3 separate regions of the Homo sapiens genome follow, and regions 1 and 2 are each linked to region 3. Evidence: promoter capture Hi-C in 16 types of primary human blood cells and fetal thymus (Javierre and others, 2016). All regions are on one chromosome and are shown on one strand. The core of a region is centred on a gene start or on the middle of the fragment in contact, and the rest is flanking DNA. Distances in the headings are between cores, read along the strand shown.

Evidence for each region. The method cuts DNA at HindIII sites, captures the fragments that hold promoters and counts their contacts. A CHiCAGO score of 5 or more calls a contact.
Region 1: a contact is called between a fragment that was not itself captured here and the fragment with the promoter of PALS2 in region 3, in 4 of 17 cell types (naive CD8 T cells, total CD4 T cells, naive CD4 T cells and 1 more). The highest score is 7.2, in naive CD8 T cells.
Region 2: a contact is called between the fragment with the promoter of MALSU1 here and the fragment with the promoter of PALS2 in region 3, in 10 of 17 cell types (naive CD8 T cells, total CD8 T cells, total B cells and 7 more). The highest score is 18.4, in naive CD8 T cells.

Annotation. Positions count from the first base shown.
Region 1 is chr7:23,548,730-23,553,775 of GRCh38, forward strand. No RefSeq gene overlaps it. Among named protein-coding and RNA genes, the nearest start is that of TRA2A, 19 kb to the left of the region's middle. The HindIII fragment of the contact is 9,681 bases long and covers 1-5,046 here.
Region 2 is chr7:23,296,993-23,301,513 of GRCh38, forward strand. It overlaps MALSU1 (mitochondrial assembly of ribosomal large subunit 1), which reads left to right and starts at 2,347. Exons shown (of 4, transcript NM_138446.2): 1 at 2,347-2,616; 2 at 3,847-4,025. The coding sequence starts at 2,361. RefSeq lists an enhancer at 2,164-2,653. The HindIII fragment of the contact is 9,022 bases long and covers 518-4,521 here.
Region 3 is chr7:24,570,828-24,575,798 of GRCh38, forward strand. It overlaps PALS2 (protein associated with LIN7 2, MAGUK p55 family member), which reads left to right and starts at 2,625. Exons shown (of 12, transcript NM_001303037.2): 1 at 2,625-2,766. RefSeq lists enhancers at 1,774-1,843, 1,864-1,963, 2,829-3,328, 3,274-3,323, 3,374-3,493 and a silencer at 2,104-3,173. The HindIII fragment of the contact is 6,948 bases long and covers 1-4,971 here.

The DNA.
Region 1 (5,046 bases), core at 1,953-4,452, 1.0 Mb before region 3:
TGGTCTTGAACTCCTTAACTTAGGTGATCCACCCATCTCAGCCTCCCAAAGTGCTGGGATTACAGGCATGAGCCACTGCACCCGGCCAGCAGCACATATTTTTAATCGCAATATTTATCTATGGCATCATACAGATGGACACTGGAGACAGATGGGGGACGTTGAAGGCACGTGAGGGATGAAAAACTATCTGTTCGGTACAATGTACACTATTCAGGTGACCTGTGCACTAAACATCTAGACTTCACCATTCCACAATTAATCCATGTAACCAGAAACCACTTGTACCCCTAAAGCTATTGAAATTAAAAAATGTTATAAAGGACTTATCTATGGCATCGAAATAAGGCTATGTTTTTAGGAATTTCATCTAAAATATCAAAGTTATATACAAGGTGGAAAAATATACATTTTGGAACAATTAGTAACCCTAACTTCCTTTAATATTACATAATAAAAATTTAAGGGCTACCTAAATTGTGTTTGCCTGCCTTCTTGGGCAGGGACGCACTTTGATTGTCTTAATTGCAATGAGATAGAGACTGAAGAATGGAAGTGATGGAGAATGATTAGCAGGATTCATGTTCCCTTAATTCCCTAGCAAATAAAATGCAAAGCAATATCCAGACATTACCCATCACGTTTTCAAGCTCCTACGTAGTCTTCATGGCTCTGAGCTCAGAGCTGGCTGCAAGTGGTCCCTGATGGGTTTTGCCCACGGCACAGGCACGGCACCTCTGGAGACAGCTGGGCTAATGTTCAGCAAAGGTTGGCAGAAGCAGGGAGAGGGGTTTGTCTTCCTTTCATAACTTTTCCAAAAATAGAACTTGTGAGTTCATGGCAACATTTAGTCACAACTTAATTTTGTAAATAGAGACAGGGTCCCACTCTTTCACCTGGACTGGCATGCAGTGGTGTGATCATAGCTCACTGTAGCCTTGAACACCTGGGCTCAAAGAATCCTCCTGCCTCATTCTTTCAAGTAGCTGGGACTTACAGGTGCGCACCACCATACCCAGCTAATTTCTTTTGAATTTTTGGTAGAGACAGGGTTTTGCCATGTTGCCCAGGCTGGTCTTGAACTCCTGGGCTCAAGGGATACTCCCACCTTGCCCTCCCAAAGTGCTGGGATTACAGGTGTGAGCCACCATACCCGGCCTCCTTCTTTTTCTTTATTATTATTATTTTTTAGATGGAGTCTTGATCTGTCACCCAGGCTGGAGTGGAGTGGCATGATCTCAGCTCACTGCAACCTCTGCCTCCCGGGTTCAAGCTATTCTCCTGCCTCAGCCTCCTGAGTAGTTGGGACTACAGGCACATGCCACCACGCGTGGCTAATTTTTGTATTTTTAGTACAGACAGGGTTTCACCATGTTGGCCAGGATGGTCTCGATTTCCTGACCTCGTGATCCACTGGTCTCGGCCTGCCAAAGTGCTGGGATTACAGGCGTGAGCCACTGTGCCCAGCCTCCTCCTCCTCCTCTGCCTCCTCCTCCTCCTCCTCCTTCTTCTTCTTCGAAATTTCTCTCTCTCTCTCATGTTTTGAGACGTAGTCTTGCTCTGTTGCCCAGGCAACAAGAGGAGTGCAGTGGCACGATCTCGGCTCACTGCAGCCTCTGCCTCGCAATTCTCCTGCCTCAGCCTCCCAAGTAGCTGGGATTTACAGGTGCCCGCCACTACGCCCGGCTAATTTTTGTATTTTAGTAGAGACGGGGTTTCACCATGTTGGCCAGGCTGGTCTTGAACTCCTGGCCTCAGGTAATCCGCCCTTCACAGCCTCCCAAAGTGTTGGGATTACAGGTGTGAGCCACTGCACCCAGCCAAAATTTCTCTTTTTTAATAGAGATGGTGTCTTACTTTGTTGCCCAGGATGGTTTCAAACTTCTGGCCTCAAGCAATCCTCCCACCACACCCTGCCACACTTGGATAATTTTTAAGTCTTTCCTTTTTTTTTTTTTAAGATGGGGTTTTGCTCTGTCACCCAGGCTAAGTGCAATGGAGCAATCTCAGCTCACTGCAACCTCTGCCTCCCGGGTTCAAGTGATTCTCCTACTTCAGCCTCCCGAGTAGCTGGGATTACAGGCACCAGCCACCACACCTGGCTAATTTTGTATTTTTAGTAGAGACAGGGTTTCACCATGTTGGTCAGGCTAGTGTTGAACTCCTGACCTCAGGTGATCTACCTGCCTTGGCCTGCTAAAGTGCTGGGATTACAGGCATGAGCCAACGTGCCCAGCCAATTGTTAAGTCTTTTATAGAGACTAGGTCTCATTATATTGCCAGGGCTGGTCTTGTACTCCTGGGCTCAAGTGATCCTCTTGGTTGGCATCCCAAAGTTCTGGGATTACAGGCGTGAGCCAGGGTGCCTGGCCTCCAAAGGGTTTTTCTGAGGGACTCCCACAGCACTGAATTAACGTCTTCATTAGTGGCAAACACAGAAAGATGCATATTCTTTAAAACTGAAATTCACTGAAGTAAAAGGGACAGGAACATAGGGAGAAAATGATTCTACAGCCGTCATAATTTTTTTTTTTTTCGCGATGGAGTCTCGCCCTGTTGCCTTGGCTGGAATGCATTGGTGGGATCTCAGCTCACTGCAACCTCTGCCTCTCAGGTTCAAGCGATTCTCCTGCCTCAGCCTCCCAAGTAGCTGGGATTACAGGCATCCACCACCATGCCCGGCTAATTTTTTGTATCTTTAGTAGAGACAGGGTTTCACCATGTTGGCCAGGCTGGTCTTGAACTCCTGACCTCGTGATCCGCCCACCTCGGCCTCCCAAAGTGCTGGGGTTACAGGCATGAGCCACAATGCGCAGCCTCCAAAGGGTTTTTCTGAGGGGCTCCCACAGCACTGAATGACGTCTTCACTAGTGAGAAACACAGAAAGATGAATGTACTTTAAAATTGAAATTCGTGGCTGGGCGTGGTGGCTCACACCTATAATCCCAGCATTTTGGGAGGCTGAGGTGGGTGGATCGCCTGAGGTCAGGAGTTCGAGACCAGCCTGACCAGAAGGGTGAAACCCCATCTCTACTAAAAATACAAAAATTAGCCAGATGTGGTGGTGTGTGCCTGTAGTCCCAGCTACTTGGGAGGCTGAGGCAGGAGAATTGCTTGAACCCAGGAGGCGGAGGTTGCAGTGAGCCGAGATCCTACCAATGCACTCCAGCCTGGGTGACAGGGCAAGACTCCGTCTCAAAAAAAAACAAAAAACAAAAAACCAAACCAAAAAATCCCAAAACCAAAAACTGAAATTTACTGAAGTAAAAGTGACAGGAACATAGGGAGAAAATTATTCTACAGCCGTCATAATTTTTTTTTTTCGAGACAGAGTCTTGGTCTGTCACCCAGGCCAGTGGCATGATCCTGGCTTACTGCAACCTCTGCCTCCCGGGTTCAAGCGATTCTCCTGCCTCAGCCTCCCAAGTAGCTGGGACTATAGGCGCGTGCCACCATGCCTGGCTCATTTTTGTATATAATTTTTTATAATAGGAATAGCCAGCTATGTCTTGAGGATTACAAAAACATTCAGATTTTTAAAAATTCAGAGAGCTCGGTGTGGGTGACTTGCACCTGTAATCCCAGCTATTTGGGAGGCTGAGATGAGAGGATCACTTTAGGCCAGGTGTCCCAGGCCAGCCTGGACAACATAGCAAGATCCTCATTTCTTAAAAAAGTTTTAAACAATTATCTGGGCTTGGTGGCACACACCTGTAGTCCCATCTACTCAGGAGACTGAGATGGGAGGATCACTTGAGTCCAGGAGTTCAAGGCTTCAGTGAACTATGATCATGCTACTGCACTGCAGCCTGGATGACAGAGTGAGACCCTGTCTCAAAAAAAGAAAAAATAAATTCAAAGAAAGGAGAGGCATAATTCTTTGGAATGATGGCCTAGTACAACGGTTCACACCTGTAATCCCAGCACTTTGGGAGGCCAAGGGCAGGTGGATCACCTGAGGTTAGGAGTTCAAGACCACCCTGGCCAACATGGTGAAACCCCATCTCTACTAAAAATACAATAATTAGCCGAGTGTGGTGGCGGGCACCTGTAGTCCCAGCTACTCAGGAGGCTGAGGCAGAATTGCTTGAACCTGGGAGGCAGTGACTGCAGTGAGCCAAGATCGCATCATTGCACTCCAGCCTGGGCAACAGAGTGAGACTTGGTCTCAAGAAAAAAAAAATTCATTGGAATGAGATTTTCTTTCATTTATTGTAATTCATTCATTAAATATTTAGTAAGTTCCTATTATTTGCTCTGCACTGTGTTAGATGTGCCATGATCAAGAGGATTGGGTTGTCCTGAAATAGTCAATTCTGATCACATAATTTAAAATGACCTCAGTGAAGAAGAGAAAAAGGAGATGTCTGAAAAAGCCATTGTGATAGTATGCGGCATTTTCTAATTAGTTCAGATATTAATAGAAAATATATGCATGACAGAAATAAGGAAATGTGACTAAAGATGAATAGAGTTCCACAAATCTGTGAAAATGGCATGAGGAATACTAAAGCTCAAATGAGAGAAGAATTGCAAAGCCACTAACAACAAATAAAACAGTTTTTTAGGCCAGGCACGGTGACTCATGCCTGTAATCCCACCGCTTTGGGAGGCCAAGGTGGGTGGATCACCTTAGGTCAGGAGTTTGAGACCAGCCTGGCCAACATGGTGAAACTCTGTCTCTACCAAAAATACAAAAATTAGCCGGGGGTGGTGTCGTGTGCCTGTAGTGCCAGCTACTCGGGAGGCTGAGGCCGAATCGCTGGAACCCAGGAGGTGGCAATTGCAGCGAGCCAAGATCACACCACTGCACTCCAGCCTGGGCGACAGAGTGAGACTCTAACTAAAAAAAAAAAAAGATCACATTTACCTCCAGAAGATAAAAGAAGACCTAGGTCTGATGCTTGGGCTGTGTAGTGTGAACAAGTGACAGAGGAAGCAGAACTCTTTGAGTCTGTCTTCAGTGTCTACGAAAATGGTCTGGATACTGATGAAGGTAAAACAAAAGTGGGTCAGAAGGAACTGGAGCCCAAGATGGGTGAGAAG
Region 2 (4,521 bases), core at 1,097-3,596, 1.3 Mb before region 3:
CAGAAGAGGTGGAATTAAATCTAAGTCTTTTCTAGTGGGGTATCATGCAGTCAAACATAAATGTTAAAGACATTTATGAACAAAGGGATGAGGGGTTTCTGAGGGGCCATCTGAGAGAGTAGGGGGAGATATCTTAATGCTTAAGGTATGTCTTACAGAGTGAGTCTGAGTTTGTCATATGAAAAAATGGGAAAAGGGTGCTCTAAAAAGAGTAGTGGCCAAGCACGGTGGCTCACACCCGTAATCCCAACACTTTGGGAGGCTGAGGCGGGTGGATCACTTGAGGTCAGGAGTTTGAGACCAGCCTGGCCAACATGGTGAAACCCCGTCTCTACTAAAAATACAAAAATTAGCTGGGGGTGGTGGCACGTGCCTGTAATCCCAGCTATTTGGGAGGCCGAGGCAGGAGAATTGCTTGAACCCTGGAGGCAAAGGTTGTGGTGAACCGAGATGGTGCCACTGCACTCCAGTCTGGGTGACAGAGCGAGACTCCATCTCAAAAAAAAAGTATATGCAAAGCTTGGCATTGAAAGGATATGGTGAGGTTGCCAGGCATGGTGGCTTATGCCTATACTCACAGCTACAGTGGGGTAGATTGCTTAAGGCCAGGAGTTTGAAACCAGCCTGGGCAACATAGTGAGATCCTGTCTTTAAAAAAATTAAAAACAAAAATTAGCTGGCCATGGTTCCACATGCCTGTAGTCCTAGCTAATTGGGAGGCTAAGGCAGGAGCACCGCTTGAGCCCAGGAGTTTGAGGATGTAGTTAGCTATGATTGTGTGACTGTACTCCAGTCTGGGTGACAAGAGTAAGACCCCATCTCTTTAAAAAATAAAAATAAAAAAGGGTATGGTGAGTTTGAAAAACAGCAAAAAGCAGATAAAGCGAAAATGATTGTAGTTGATAGAAGGGCAGCATGGAGGATGAAAAGAGTAGAAACAGACTGGAGACAGGAAAGCCAGGTAGGAGGCAGTCTCTGTAATTAGGCAAGAACTAATGAGGGTGTGGACTAAGGAAGAAACAGTGGAAATGAAGACAAGAAGCTGAACTCACAGAAACATTTTGGAGGTCACATAAGCAGGATTTTGACAACAGATTCGTTTGTTGTATGAAGATCCTGGACTGAATGAAGTCTAGGGTTTGGGAGTTTTGAAGGGATAATGACCCATTAAATGAGCTGGCAAATACAGGTGGTAAAGCAGGTCTGGGATGTTCAGAGAAGGGTGGGAACACGGAATGGATGCCAGAAGCTGGGAGAAAAGCCAAGTTCATGCCTGTGGAAAAATGGAATTGAGGATGGGGCTAAAATTGGACAGAGGAAACTTAATCTGTAATGTTTTTCTTCTTTTCAAAAATAACTTGAAGTGGTTGTACATATCTGGTGTGATATACACAAATGCTTAATTTCTCTATTTTTAAAAAACTTCCCAAAATTAGTGCTTGGAATTATTTAAAATAATGTAGCAAACATTTTTGGAGTGCCTGCTATGTGTCTGGCACTGTTTCAGGCATTTGAAATATTTGCTCTCTATGAAGCCTTCCTTTCAGCAGTTAGCAGGCCTGGAGTTCAGAAGCCAGAAACTGGCTTCTGATTCTGACGCAGTCAGTAAGTGTATGACCTGGGCAAGTTGCTTCCCTGCGGCGTCCCACGCCCCCAAAACCCCCCACCCCCCCACCCGTGCCAGGAATCTATCGCAGTTCTCAAGTCCTGTGACTTAATACCGCAGCTGGCACCTCAGAATTCCTTATTCTTACAGAGCTGGTCCCCACAGTACCGCCCCTGGGCGTAAACTCCTCCATACAGGGAGTGTAGATGATGGGCTGACCTAAGAACGGTTTCCAAATGGTCCTTTACACCTCTGCCTCCCACCCCACTCTAGCCCAGGATAACAGATTTTCCTCGCGCAATTTCAAATTTGCAAGGGAATCTTGAATATTTTCTGGTAATGAGAGAGGGTAGATTATATGTCCTAATCCCAGCCTAATCAGATTAACAGCAACTTCTGGACATTCAGTACCAGGAACTGTTTTAGGTGCTGTGGAGAGAAGAGTTAAAAATGAAACAAAAATTATTGCCTTCATGAGCCTCACATTAGTGGACAGAGTCCAAAAAAAAAGTGACAACGTAATGCGCTACTGCGACACAAAGCAAAGCAAGGTGGGCAAGCAACACTAGTTCTTTATTCCCGCACGCCCTAATCCCCAAGTAGCTCTTCCGGGTCACTGCAGTCTTCACGGGCTCCAGACTCCGCCCATGGTCCGTCCTTCAGGCCTTGACTCCGCCCACGCATCGACGTAGAATTTCCCGGCCGGGCTCCATGAAGTACCACCCACCCGCGACGCCGACGCAAGGCTGCTGCTATGGGGCCGGGCGGCCGTGTGGCGCGGCTGCTCGCCCCACTAATGTGGCGCAGGGCGGTTTCCTCGGTGGCGGGGTCCGCGGTTGGAGCCGAGCCCGGGCTTCGGCTGCTGGCCGTGCAGCGGCTTCCCGTAGGAGCAGCGTTCTGCCGGGCTTGCCAGACCCCAAACTTTGTCCGCGGCCTGCACAGCGAGCCTGGGCTGGAGGAGCGGGCGGAGGGGACGGTCAACGAGGGACGCCCAGAATCGGACGCGGCAGGTACGGGCGTGGAGAAGAACGAAGGCGACCCTCTCCGGGCAGTCTGGAGTCAGGTCCCAGCCAAGGTGGCTCTGGGTTCCCCTCTATGTGCATTTCTCTTGGAGTCACAAAACTCCTGCACATCCAGAGCTGGAAGGGACTTCAAAGGTTGTTGGCGCCAACCTTCCCGTTTCACAGTGAAGAAATTGAGGGCAAGAGATGAACTGCAGAATCCCAGCCTCCCGGACGGCCATCTCCCACCCTTGGCATCACAGTCTCACCGTCCTCACTTCCTTTTACCCTCTTCCTAGGATCCTGGGAAATGGGTTTGTGGGGACTGTTGGGGCTTGAGGATTCTGAGGAGCCAGGGTCTGGGTGCGAAGGGGTGCGTAGGAAGCGCCAGTAGGAGATGGGTCCAAGTTAATATCCTCTAGTTATTGCTGACGTTTTTAGAAACTTAAGAATGGTAAACAGATCACATCTAAGAATGTAGAGTATGAGAGGGAGAGGCCTTAGTGGGCTTAGCTACTAGGTCCTTTGGAGTCGGCTTTAGAACTTGGGCGAGCTTTTAAATTTACAGCCTGTAATACTCCAAGCTGAAGATCAGAATATCTAAATCTTTACGGGAAAAAAAATTAGATTTTCATAGGTAACAGTTGTTAATAACCCGGTGGTTTTATATGAAAACTGGAAGGTTCAAAATAATAATTACTCAAAAATGTAGCTCTTTCAGTGACTGATCTTAGGCCACAGTAATTCTCCTAGGCCTCAGTTTCTTCATCTCTCAACTGAAGGTTGTGGACCAGATACTGCCTAAGAGCCCTTCCAGCTCACAATTCTGTGACCCGTTATGACTGAGATTCAATTTAATATGCTCCAGGATATCACCTCCTACCCATTTTGTGGTGCTGTTTTTCTTTGCACAGCATTTCTGTGATTGTGGTGTATTGCTCCTTTTAAGTATTAGTAGAAAGTCATTTGTCACTGGTGTCTGGTTCTACTTGCATATGGTTAATAGCGAAGGATGTATAGTGGCTCTGCGTAATCTGAGCACCCTGACCATAAAAGTTGAGCGGTGCTATGATACTACTGCCCAGGTTCACCTTCCAGGAGGCCTTTACCCTGCTATCTGTAAAAACACTTTGGATCTAAACACCCTCATGGAGGAACAGTCAGCTGCCGGCATCTCTGGGTGCATACACGTCTATCTGCTTGGCCATCCTGATACAAACAACTATTTGTGCATTTCAGATCATACTGGTCCCAAGTTTGACATCGATATGATGGTTTCACTTCTGAGGCAAGAAAATGCAAGAGACATTTGTGTGATCCAGGTTCCTCCAGAAATGAGATATACAGATTACTTTGTGATTGTTAGTGGAACTTCTACCCGACACTTACATGCCATGGCCTTCTACGTTGTGAAAATGGTAGGATGCTTTCTTTTCTCTTTTGGACCATTAACTGAGTGGAATAGTGACAGTGCATCAGGCCAAGGAGCAACACTTAGAGGGTAAACCCATCATACAAAGTTACAGAAGAAGCCCAAATTTTCAGAATTTGCATGAATTCATTTTATGTTCTTTGATAGTGAAACATATGGGAGCAAATATCCAGCCCTATTGAGTTAGGATATATCAAAATCTTTTCTCTTGTGACCGCAAGGAAGATTTTTTTTTTTTTTCTAATTGAGATGGAGTTTTGCTCTTGTTGCCCAGGCTGGAGTGCAATGGCGCGATCTCTGCTCACCGCAACCTCCGCCTCCCGGGTTTAAGTGATTCTCCTGCCTCATCCTCCTGAGTAGCTGGGATTACAGGCATGCGCCACCAGGCCCAGATAATTTTGTATTTTTAGTAGAGACGGGTTTCTCCATGTTGGTCAGGCTGGTCTCAAACTCCTGACCTCAGGGGATCCGCCTGCCTCAGC
Region 3 (4,971 bases), core at 1,375-3,874:
TGATGACCTCTCAGAAAGCTGAGTTGGGAACCAATGATGGGAGTTCCAATGTTTAACTGAGAACACTTTAAATTTATCCTGGCATGTCCCACCTTTAAAGTTTAGAGGAAGGGCAGAATGTTATAAAATGGGAATATCATTTATAAAAGGAAATAGTGTTTCCTTTTATAACTGTATATGAGTATTTGATACAATACTCATCTGACACTGAGAGAGGAACTTCACCGGCAAGAGCTTTCTGAAGGGGAGCAATCAAAGACAGTTATTGGAGCAAAATCATTTTTCTGACTCTAAGAATGAAGCTGAGTCTTACGGCAGTGATAAGCCTCCATCTGATAGCTGCTGTCATTACTTAGAGCACAGACTTGGAACTGCAAATGAAAGATAATTGTTCCTGTATTCCTGCTCCCAAATGCTGGGTCTCTGGTAGATGCAGAGATAAAGCAGTTGGCCAGGAGTGGTGCCAGCTTTAAGTCAGGTAGGTCTGCATGTAATTTGAGGGGCAGAGCCTACCCCAAACCCTCCCTCCCTAAAACTTCCTCAGTTAACATCATTCTACTTGCAGGGAGCAGGGGTAGAGTAGGTTAGGACATTGTTTCCAGAAGACCCTTGAGGAAATAAAAGTGCACTATTAAGGATCACTAACATATCTGGAAATGACATTCATACCCTACCTCCCACCCCAACCCCAGAGAAGCTCAGGGCAAGTAACTAAGTGGCTGGGTCCAAGGGGATGTGTTAAGGTTAAGAGTCAGAAGGGAAAAGAGTTCACAAGCCTGGGTAGGGTACAGCAGGGAGGACCCATGGGTGTCCTGTGAGAAGCAAGTGGGCCTGGGGCAGCAAGAAGGACCTGAAAGGTCTTGCTGACACCCCGAGAAGACAAACCCCATCCTTCCGCTTTGTCTCTGCCTTGGGCTCCGAGCCCACTCCACTTCATTTCATCCAGCCATCCTGACTACAGGGGGCCCAAAGCTACTCTGTGCCCTGGGCACGTTTGAGTCTCCTTAAATGCTTCCAATTACCTTTGCCTGGGTTTGTGGTTCCAGGAAAGAAGGTTCTAAATTAACACTGTACAAGGCCCCCCTGCATGTTGGTTTGCAAAATTAATGATCCTAATGGAAAAGTAAATTAATCTTTGATGCTTGGTTGAGGATAAACACAAAAATCACTGTTTTGGACACTGGACCTTCTTAATACATCTCATCAATAGTATTTTCTCTCTCCCTTCCATGCCTGCCACATTCACAAAGAGAGGAGACAATACAACTTATAACTTCATCTCTGAATCCAAAGGGCCATGATGCACGCATTTATTCTGCAAACACTTATTAATGGTCTGGTTTGTGCAAGGTGCCCAAGAGAAGCCAGGAAAGGCTGCACAGAGGAGGCCACCTCATAACACTCCTCACACGTAAAGTTTGACTTGCACTTTCTACGTTCATGGTTTGAAAAGATTGCAGTAAGCATTTTGTAAAATGTAAATTACATTCTTCAATTTTAGGAAGAACACAATAGTTTTTCCAAAAGCCGCCTGTCACAGGTCTGAGGGTTCACAGAGCTCTTTTAAGGGGATCGGAAGTTCTCTGGCTGCCTTGCTATGTTTTTCTAGCCAGAAGTCTCTGCTGCAGTGCATTGCTCAGTTCCTTTCAACTGAAAAATTAAATCTGCACTTCTGTCAAAATGTGTCATCTACACATCCGGACACTCATCACAGTTCACCAAGCTCTACGCAGAGTCCAGGCTGAAAGGATGGCATGCCCTCCCCAACCCCACCCTTTTGAGGTCTGGGAAGCCCAGGTGCTGGGGAGGAGCTGAACAACTGTGTCCAGGGAGTGTCTGGCAAAGCCGACCCAGGGAGTTCCACGGGAGCCTCGGTGCTATGAAAAGAGCCAGTGTCCATGCATTTCCTCGGGTGTGAATCACACTGCCCGGTCGGGCCTTTGGGAAAAAATTAATGAAGGACACAGTCAGCGCCGTAGAACCTGCCAAATACACATCAGATCCAGTGGAGTCTGTGAAGGGGGAGGGGGAGATTTTTCCAGAGGCTTTTCTTCTCGTTCCATTTCTCTTTTGTGCCCCACGACTGGGTTCTTGAATGTAAAACTCTCAGAAAGGTCAGGGCGGAGCCTGTTTTATGCCCCGAGGAGTATCTTGCCCACCCGTAAATGCTGACAGACAGCTGCGACTTCGGCCCAGGAGACCCGGCGGGGACTGGGTCCGACCAGCCCTCTCTCGCGGGCGCAGGTCCGGGACCCCTGAAGCGAGCCGGCCGGGCGCAGAGCGCAGTCAGTCTGGGCGCTCAGAAGCTGGGAGGGGGCTCCACCTGGGCGCCCAGCCGCGGCGGGAGGGGCGGGGCCCGGCTTTCCGGAGGCGGTGGCACCTCCTCGCGCCCGAGCGCGCGCTCCCCGACGTCCGGCGCACGCGCGAGGCCGGCTGGGAGCGCGCCCAAGCGGCGGCGGCGGCGGCGGCTGGAGGAGGAGGAGGAGGAGGAGGAGGAGGAGGAGGGCGGCTGAGGCGCGGCTGGCTGCGCGCGCGGAGGCAGCGGCGGGGGCGACCGGAGCTGGGGCAGAGTGGGGAGCGAGGGAGGGGGAGGAGAGAGAGGGAGGCGGAGGGCAGTGAGAGACGCATTTCCAGTTCTCAACTACGAGCCACGAGTTTGCAGATGGGGCTGCTCGGCGGCGCCTGTGGCTGAGGGAGAGCAGCGGCGGCGGGGAGCGACCGGGAGCGGCGGCAGCGGCGGCGCGGAGGCGGCTGAGGTGCGAGCCGGTGAGTTAACTGGACCCCCACGCCGCTCGGGTAACGGTCGCGCCGCGCGCCGGGCCGGCCGGGGGCGCCCTGTTGCTCGGCGCGGCGCGCCACGCGGGGACCCTGGCCCGCCCCGCCCCCCTCGGCACCTGGGCTTCGGCGGGCGCGGGGAAGAGGGACCGGCAGGCGGCGGCGGCGGCGCCGCGGTCGGGGAGGCTGCTGGCCGCCCCCAGCCCGGCCCGCGCGGAAGGGGCGCTCGGCCGGGCTCCTGCCTCTCTGGCTGCGGGCGGCTGGGCGGGCCGGAGCTCGGCAACGTGTCTGGCCCATGCTGCTTGCCGCCGCTCCCCACGCGCTCCCCGGCGCGGCCCCGACTGGGGCTAGGGCCGCAGACGCGCGGGGCCCCTTCGGGCGCGGGGCTTGGGTGCCTACACCTCTGCGGCGGGAGTCGCGGTGGAGCCTGAATGGAGAGCCGGCCTGGGGGCGGCGTTGCTGTGACTGACACCTCCGGGGTCTGTCCCGAGAGGGGGTGATTCCGCCGGCTCCCGGTTCTCTCCCGAGCTCGGAGTTGGTAGGGGAGGAGGCTTTCTCCAACTACCGCCGCTACTTCCGAGGTACGAGACTCCAGTTGTTTGGCCAAAGTGGCTGTGGGCCGAGCACAGGCTGCCGCGGGGGCGTTCGCTGCTGAGATCGTGCTCGCGGATTCTCGGTACGTTTGTCTGAAACCAAATAGGTGCTGGGGCTTTTTTATTTTGGCTGGGTGGAGGGTCAGCAGGGGAGTCGATTGAGGTATCCGACCGTGTGGTGACAGGATGTGGATTGGTTGGTAGATGTTTTTTTGCAGAAGGACTTTTTAACACTTTACTGGGAGTTTATTCTCAATCCTACCAGTTTCTGGGATTGCAGCTCGAGATTACATTTGTTAAACTTCCATCAGTTGGGTGTGCATCTGTGTAGGGGGTGGGGGTGAAGCGAGGGAGAGAATTGAAGACTGCCGGGGAAGCTCAGAAAATTCTCCGCATTACTTATAAACAGCCGGGTAAGGTCAGGCTAGCCACGTTTTATTCTTTCCTACGCCTTTGGAGAGTGTTGGAATTTTACTTTGTGCTTCAAGTATATTACAAGTGGTCTTGTAGTGTAGCTGAGAACGTTTGGGGTGCGTTAAAATGCGTTTCAATTGGAGTATGATTTAGCAGCCATTTCTTCCCGTGAAATTTTGCAAATCATTTGTAAACTTATGTTGGTCGAATATACCAGGCGAAGTAACATTTTTAGTAATGCGGTATATAGTTTCCGTATATAGGTATAGCAACGGACCTCAAGTAATATTGCTTATTGTAGGCATCTACTGTGCAATGATAGGGTAGTGGGTAGTAGGCCTGATTATAGTTATGTCTTCTGAGGCCTTGTTAACAGTAAACAAAGAACTTTTGTGGGTTGTGTCATTTTGAGGTCATTTGTACCTTAAATCTATCATATATTTAAATAGGTGTTTAAATGCGTGTTTGCACGATGTGTTACTCTTTAAGGTCCATGTTTCCTTCATTCTGGACTACGGTTACATAATACACAAATGGTAACACTTTTAATTGCTCAATTTTGTCCTATGGAGACTGCACACCATCTTTATGAAAGAGGTGTGTATGTGTCCTTACTGATGCCACCGAATTCTTGACATCTGGAATGTCAAAATGAATTATTTTGCATTCTAGGTTAAATCAACACTGGAAAAATTAAGGTGTTTAAGCAAGTCTAGTAGCTCTATATAAGACAGAATCTTTTTTTTTCTTTAGGCCAACTGTTGGATTTTTAAAAATGAATCATATTTTTAAACATTTGAGGGAGCAGTTTGCTTCTGAGTCTCATTTTAGGCTGAAATTGTTCCAGAGCACTACATAGCCTGCTTCTCTCTTTCTCTCCCCACTCCCCCTCTTTTTAGCTTGAGATAACCAAGAAGACATAACTGTGACTCTATGTGTTATCTTTTTAAAAAGTTGTTTTAAAATTGAAGTTGCTTGTTTGAATATTTACTATCCCTTTACATGCTTTACTACTTAATAATGGATTAGCAGAATAAAACAGATATTTTAATTAAATGTCTTTCATATTTTTGACATCTGAGCTTTGTAAAAATGGAGTAGCATCATATTATTGCTGAGAGAGTTACAAATAATACAGGATTAGTGCTAGTCAAAGGCTAATTGTAAAAAAACAGCCAGAAAATAAAAT